2 separate regions of the Homo sapiens genome follow, and region 1 is linked to region 2. The links are contacts of gene promoters, found by promoter capture Hi-C in human tissues and cell types (Jung and others, 2019). All regions are on one chromosome and are shown on one strand. Each heading gives the region's core, a stretch centred on a gene start or on the middle of the fragment in contact. The rest is flanking DNA. Distances are from core to core; before and after follow the strand shown. Region 1 overlaps SCN11A (sodium voltage-gated channel alpha subunit 11). Region 2 holds the start of SCN5A (sodium voltage-gated channel alpha subunit 5).

Region 1 (3,766 bases), core at 1,134-3,633, 330 kb before region 2:
AACAACAACAACAACAACACACACACACAGAGAGAGAGAGAGAAGGAGGGAGGGAGAGATACTTGCATCTTAAACCTGATTAGCAGCCTGGATTGATTTCTTTTTACATCTTCAGTTTCGGGGTTCCCTCTTCTTTCTTGTGGTCACCTCACTGCATCACCGTTCATAAAGCCTGGTGGGCCACTCAGTATGTAAGGCAGAAGCAGGGTCTGTCCAGCTCAGCTCACACTTCAATGGGGAACACCCAGCTCCACTGAAGTCTCCATTCCATGTGTCTGGAATCATTCCCTTTGATCCATTTGTATCTCTCTGAAACTGATCATTCCACTCCTATTCCTGCATATTCTTCAGTTCCTCTTTATTAGACTGGCCTCCCTGACGCATCTGCTGGCTCTGTCGGCACTTCCTTCTGGCAGCAGTGTGGATGGTGTGGTGACGGTCCATTGAAATGGCCTCTAGTGATTCTCAGCTCCTAGTATTCATGCCCATGTGTAGTCTCCTCCCACAATGAAGGCAGCTGATCTGTATAACTAACAGGATATTGTGCAAATCAAAAAGTGTGACTTCCAAAGCTAGACATTGTGGCTTTTGCCTTACTTTCTTACATCACTTGTATAGGACACTCAAACAGACTGTGGAAAGGTCCCGGTAGGGAGAAATGGCAGTTTCCCACCAATGGCCAGTACAACCTTGCCTCATGAGTGAGCCACCTGCAAAGCAGACCCTTTAGTCCCAACCAAGACCAACTAGCTAACATCTTGACTGCAACCTCAGGAGAGATCATGAGCTGGAGGAACCCAGCTAATCCATTCTGGAATTCATGACCCATAGAAACTGTGAGATGGTAAACACTTATGGCTATTTTAAGCCACTAAGTTTTGAGGTCATTTCTTACACAGCAGTAGATGACTAATACTTTAAACAACATGTCTCTTCTAGTTTTCACCATCCCAGCAAATGGCAAATGCATTTATGCTGTTGTTCAGTCCAAAATCCAAGACTCAGCCTTGATTATACTCTTCCCCTCACAATCCACATCAGCAAATTATGTAAGACAGCTTTTTCTTGAAATGGTTTCACAAATCTATCTGCCTTTCTCCATCTTCACTGCCATAGCTCACACCCAAGCCATGGTCACCTCCAGCCTGCACTCCTGCAACAGTGTCCCCACTGATCTTTTCATTTTTACACCTGTCCCTAACAGTTGATTCTTAAGACAGCCAGCAGGCCGGGTGCGGTGGCTCACGCCTGTAATCCCAGCACTTTGGGAGGCCGAGATGGGTGGATCACGAGGTCAGGAGATCGAGACCATCCTGGCTAACACGGTGAAACCCCGTCTCTACTAAAAATACAAAAAAAAATTAGCCGGGCGTAGTGGCGGGTGCCTGTAGTCCCAGCTACTCGGGAGGCTAAGGCAGGAGAATGGCATAAACCCGGGAGGCAGAGCTTGCAGTGAGCTGAGACTGCGCCACTGCACTCCAGCCTGGGCAACAGAGCAAGACTCTGTCTCAAAAAAAAAAAAAAAAAGACAGCCAGCCAGAAAGACATTTTTTTAAAAAATCCGAATATGTCATCCTCTGTTTAAGCCCTCCTGTGGCTTTCATTGTATCACAAAACTGAAATAGTCTGCTGCAGCCTAGTGACCATACATAATCCAGCCCCTGCCTACATCTCTGCCTCATCTCCTACTATGCTTGCTCATTCACTCAACTCTAGTCACACTGGCCTCCTCACTGCCCTTGAATGTGTTTCTGAGTCAAGGTCTTTGCATTTGCTCTTATTTTCTTGGAATGTTCCCTCCCCCAGACTTTCGCGTGCCTTCATTGAAAGCTCAACACGAATTTCAGCCAGGCACAGTGGCTCACGCCTGTAATCCCAGCACGTTGGGAGGCCAAGGTGGGCGGATCACCTGAGGGCAGGAGTTTGAGACCAGCCTGGCCAACATGGTGAAACCCCGTCTCTACTAAAAATACAAAAATTAGCCGGGCATGGTGGCAGGTACCTGTAATCCCAGCTACTTGGGAGGCTGAGGCTGGAGAATTGTTTGAACCTGAGAAGCAGAGGTTGTAGTGAGCCAAGATCATGACATTGCACTCCAGCCTGGGGGACAGGAGTGTGGCTTTGTCTCAAAAAAAAAAAAGCTCAGCACAAATTTCACCTCCTCAGAAAGGCTTTCCTTGACAATTCAATATCAATATCTCCCTTTTACCATCTACCCCCTTGTCCTCACCACTAAGGTGCCATATTGGATTTAGGGTTCTTGGGTTGCAAACAACAGAAACCAGCTCTTTCTTATTTAAACTAAAATAACAATTATGGGAAGGTAGGGGGAGCTCTTTAGATTGAATGCAATGTTGAAGAGCCAGAAGGAGGCAGATACTAGCAGCTCTGAACATGTTGGTCTCCAGATGAATAGGGCACCTTCCTCAGTGGAGGCACCCATTGAAGAATGAGTACATTCCTAGAGAATGTGGTCTAAGAGGATTATGAGTGAAAAGGACCTGATGGTCATGGAGCAAGACTGCTCTGGGATTCCTCCTTTCCTGGTGGTTGCAGAGAAGGAACAGTGGGAAAGAGGGAGGCTGTAGAAGGATGACTGGTGTGGAAACTTTCCCAAAGCAATGGGACTAAAAAGATTTAGAAATGTGATCAGCAGGACTTCATTTTACCCTGTTCTCCTGGGAACAAATCAATGAGGTGATCATTATCTTCACCAGAGGCCCATTTAGAAATTGAACATTTTTAAAAGCACACAGAACAGAAGGATTTGTAATGTGTAAGTTTATCTCTAAGTAATTTCTCTCTCTAACTTCCTGGTGGATGAAACCCAACACAAGTTAGCTTAAGCAAAAAAGGTCTTTGTGTTTTTTGTTTTTTAAATAGAGATGGATAGTTCTTTCGTAAAACCATAGGACTGTCATGATGGTCAAAGGACTAGAACCAGAAACTTAAGAGTCATTAGCAACTCAAAGAGATTCTTTCTTTTTTGGATTTTCTTTCAAGCTCCCTTATGGGGTAGAGGTTGTCATTAACTTATAGATGAGGAAACTGAGACGCAGAGGTTAAGTAACTTGCCTTAGGGTCACACTTGGCTTTACCTTAATGATAGGAGGGTCCTTGTTTGTCTTGAGGGTTTCAGAATTTCCTTGTTCATTTCTCTATTACTTTCTTTCCCCATTCAAGTGAGACTCAAGTTGCTGACACAGGGGAGGTCAGGCCACAGAGGACCCAGTGTCTATTGAAACTCTATTTTATAGGGCACAGTGAGCACCCTTCCTCAGCTCCCAAAGCCTGTTCTTTCTAGAAGCCTTAACTTAACTAGGGGAGTTCAAAGTCATGCACCTTTTGCCTAGGTCTGAATATTGAAGAATGGCCTGACCACTCTGGTGAAGGTGACATGGAGCAAAAAACATCAAAGCTCAGGGGTGAAGAGGAATCATGAAGGCCATCTAATGCAGGGGCCACAAACCCACACGCAGCAGGAACCACTCAGGTACTATAAAGGAAATAAGTAGCACAGTAAGAAGAGTGGTGAGGTCTGTGGCTAATGGTCTCATCTAAAACAGCCTTCCCTATTCAGCTCTGGCTTCTTGCTGACATTTTGGACTCATACTCAACATTGTTAGATTTTCTGAGTTTTCAAGAGAAGCCAGAAGTTTTCCCCGCTACTTTGTATTGTTGTGAAAATTAAATGAGATAACTCACATAAGTTGATTGGAAGATGTGTCTGGCATATGGGGTAAGCTTTCAGTAAGTGTTCATGGCT
Region 2 (3,748 bases), core at 26-2,525:
TGACTGTACTTTTTTCGTGGGCAAAAGCTGATGGCCTGTTTTTTGTTGTTGTTTTGTTTTGTTTTTGTTTTTGTTTTTAGAAGCGCAAGATTTATTGTGAAGAGGGAAAGAACAAAGCTTCCACAGCGTGGAAGGGGACCCAAGCGGGTTGCCCTGATGGCCTGTTTTGTTTAAACAAGAAGTGTGTCCCCATAGGTCCTGGGCATGGGCATGGGAGCAACTGTTTGTCAGCGTATGTCTCCGTGTGTGTGTGCCTGTGACCATGTCTCTGAGTGAGAAACAGTGGGTGTGTAAGTATGTGACTCCAGGCTCTGCATGTGTCAAGGTGAAGGTTGTATGTGGCTCAAGAGGGTGGAAGTATATATATAAAGAGGTATATACATGTATATATATGTATGTGTGTGTGTGTGTTTGCGCGCGCGCGTGTGTGGGTGTCTCTGTGTTGGTTGCCTGCTTGCTTCTGGGTCTGGGTGTGTGTTTGGTTCTGTCAGCATGTGCGTCCGTGTGTTCAGGTAGATGTGTACCATTGTGCAGATTTCTGTGGCATCACTAAGTGTGTCTCCAGGAAAGTGTGGTTCGAGTGAGTGTGTGTGTCTCTGTGTCAGTGTGTCAGTGGATGTGTGTCTAAGTCATGTGGGTGTCTAAGTTTGTCAGAGTGTCTTCCTCAGTGTCAGTGTGTGTCAATGATGTGTCTGTCTGTGTCTGTGTGGGTGTGTGGGGGTGTGTATCTGTCTCAGGGTGCATGTGTGTGTCTGTGTCAGTGCAGGTATGCCTATGGCAGCGTGTGTCTGTCTCGGCATGAGTGTCAGTGTATGCCCGTGTCCACGTGGGTGGGTGGGTGTCTGGTAGCCTTCCCAAGTCAGCAAGGTTGCGTGTGTGTGTGTGTATACTCTGGCGGGTGCTGGTGTGTATGCCAGTGTTTGTTAATGTGAGCCTGTCCGCGTCCGCGTGGGTGGCCATCTGTGGTGAAGCGTCGCCGGGTCGCCGTGTGTGTACCCCCGCCTATGTCTGTCTGTCCGCGGCCGCGTGTGCGGCTGTCTGTGGCTGTGAGCCCCCGGGTCAGTGTGGGAGTGTGCGCCCCGGCGGGCGCTGGTGTGTCCCCCCTCCGAGCGGGCGGAGCACCACGTGCGGAGCCCTGGGCGCGTCGCTCTGGGGCGGAGCCAGCCCGGGGCCCCAAGCCCCAGGCCGAACCCAGGCGGGGCCCGCCCCGACCCCGCCCCCGACCCCGCCCCCAGCCCGAGCCCGCGCCGCCTGCCCAGCCCGGGAGCCCGAACAGAGCCGCGGAGCCGAGACGGCGGCGGCGCCCGTAGGATGCAGGGATCGCTCCCCCGGGGCCGCTGAGCCTGCGCCCAGTGCCCCGAGCCCCGCGCCGAGCCGAGTCCGCGCCAAGCAGCAGCCGCCCACCCCGGGGCCCGGCCGGGGGACCAGCAGGTGAGCGAGTGCCCCCGCGCCCGGCAGCCCTGGCCCGGCCGGAGCCCCCTCCGCCTGCCGCCGCCCAACTTTCCTCCCCGAGGGCCGAAGCCTCCAGTCCCTGCGTGCTCCTCCCTGCCCCGGGTCCGCCCAGCCGCTCCCTCCCCGATCAGTGCCCCAGAGAGCCGGAGGGGGAGAAGGGGCGCAGATCCGCCCGGCTGGAGGGTATCCCCGGGGGAGACGTCTCTAAACACCGTGCGCCCCCCTTCCCTTCCCTTTCCTTCCGGGTTTCCCGGTGCGCTGTCGAGGGCCGGGGGAGGGGGAGCTGCGGCCCCAGCTTCCCGGCCATCCCTGGCGCAGGCTCGGGGAGGGTCTGGGATTGGGACCCGGATACCGGAGGCCGGAGACCCCAAGGTCAGAGCGGCGACTAGGCGCGCCATGAATGTGGTTCCAGAGAGCGGGGTTTGCGGGGGCTGACCGAGCAGGGCTGGATATGGGGGAGGAAGCCACGCACCCCCTTTCTCTGGGCCCAGGGGGAACCGTCCGCTGGGGCTGTCCTCTCTGTGGGACGAGATCTCTGCGCGTTTAGACCATGTAGAGATCTCGGTGCCCTTTGACGCCCTAAAGGGGCCGCATCTCCTCTGTCTGATCTCTGTGCTTCTCGAAGGGGTGGAGATCTCTTTGCGGTGAGATTGGAGAGAGTTCTCTGCCCTCCTCTCTCTGAGCCGGAACAGATCCACGCACCCTGATGGGAGGTGGCTCTCGACCTCTGTGTTATTTGATCGTCTTTGGTGGCGCTCTGGAAGAAAGTGGAGGTGCCAAGCTTTGTCCGAGAGGCCAAGAGCTGGTGGGGGCCAGAGGTGTGGGGACTGTTAGTGGTGGTGATGAGGATGGGGGGAAATGATGTTGGGGACAAGTCCCTGGCTGTAGGCCTGCCTTGCAAACACCTGTTGGAGAGCAGAGCACAGCCAGATCAGGATGCCATGGCTAAGATAGTGCAGGACTCACTCTTGTGCTCCTCAGTGCCTTCAGCCCAGCCCCGGGCCATGGGATCTATCTCCTCTTAAGGTCCTGGGCCTATGTTCCATTCCCAGGCATCTGCTCGCCTCCTGCTGAGACCCCAGGTGTGTCTCCCAGTGAGCCTAGGCAGTATCATCCAGATGGCAAACCACGTGACCCCCACCATGCCATGGCATCCCAAGCCCTCTCCCAGGTTCCCACCATCCTTCAGGATCTAGTGGGACCGTGAGCAGCAGAGGCCCCAGCTACTGGGGGCCCAGGCCATTGCCGCTGCCCTCAACTCCATCTGTTTGACCTCATCTCCACTCAGTTAGAATTGGGCAGGTGCATATGAATCGGTGGTAATGAGTGCGAGGTGGAATGAGGGTGGTCAGGCTGCTGTTGCAGGAGCATGGAGAGGGTGAGGTCAGGTGACAGCCAGGGTGTGGAACACAGATTCTATGTTACAGTGTCCAGCTCTGTGCTGAAAAGAGCCTCATTAAACTTTTAATCATGTCATCACTACCATATCATACAAGTGGGGAAACTGAGGCCCAGAGGAGCTCAAGGACTTATTCAATGTCATCTAGAGAATCAGTGGATTGGGGGCACCACGCAATGTGAAGACACCTTGAGATCTACTTTCTGTGGGGCAAATAAGCCTAGAACTGAGCCAGGAGGATCTGAGCAGAAGGGGAACTGGCCCTGGGGTGCCAAGAGCCAGCATTCAGCCCAATGTGGCAAGGGCAGCTGCTGTGCTCCAAGGTGCTCGGCTCCCTCTCTGTGTGTTGATCAAAGCTCCTCTGGAAAAATTCTAGTATTGACTCACTCAGCATGAAGATTGGGCTTGGAGGACTAGTGGGAAGCACCAGAGACAGCTGGGGATGGGAGAAGAGCGGAGGCTGGTGCCCAGGCAATCCAAAGAGAAGGGAGTCCTGAGGGCAGCCAGGGACAGTGGCAAATTGCAGTTTGTGTTCTGTTCAGAGGAGGCTGGCTTATGCTCACTCTTGGGAAGGTTATTGGAAGGGTGTGCAGTGGTAGAAGTGTGTCCCCAGAGCCCATTCACAGGAGAGGTGGTTACCTTTGGCCGGAATAGTCAAGAATCTTATTCTAACAAAAATAACCTTCCACACTGGGTTTTGAAGGGTGAATAGGAGTTTTCCAGGCAAGGACAGTGCAGTCTAGCTGTCAGGACCAGTATGTACAAAAGACAGAAAAGTGAAACAGCACAATTATTAGTTGAGTGATTCGTTGGGCCCCATGGTGTGAGGAAGAGAAGAGCGGAGTTAAAGCCAAGGTCACAGTCACGGGGGCCCTTGTGAGCTCTGCTCAGGAATTG

What was found. Contacts are between HindIII fragments. The study calls those that stand out against the background at their distance.
Region 1: a contact is called between a fragment that was not itself captured here and the fragment with the promoter of SCN5A in region 2, in 1 of the 25 tissues and cell types used here (liver).

Annotation. Positions count from the first base shown.
Region 1 is chr3:38,982,890-38,986,655 of GRCh38, reverse strand. All of the region lies in intron 2 of SCN11A (sodium voltage-gated channel alpha subunit 11), which reads left to right. Among named protein-coding and RNA genes, the nearest start is that of SCN11A, 67 kb to the left of the region's middle. The HindIII fragment of the contact is 6,597 bases long and covers 1-3,766 here.
Region 2 is chr3:38,647,214-38,650,961 of GRCh38, reverse strand. SCN5A (sodium voltage-gated channel alpha subunit 5) reads left to right here and starts at 1,275. Exons shown (of 28, transcript NM_000335.5): 1 at 1,275-1,431. RefSeq lists a silencer at 1,157-1,316. The HindIII fragment of the contact is 3,470 bases long and covers 1-3,236 here.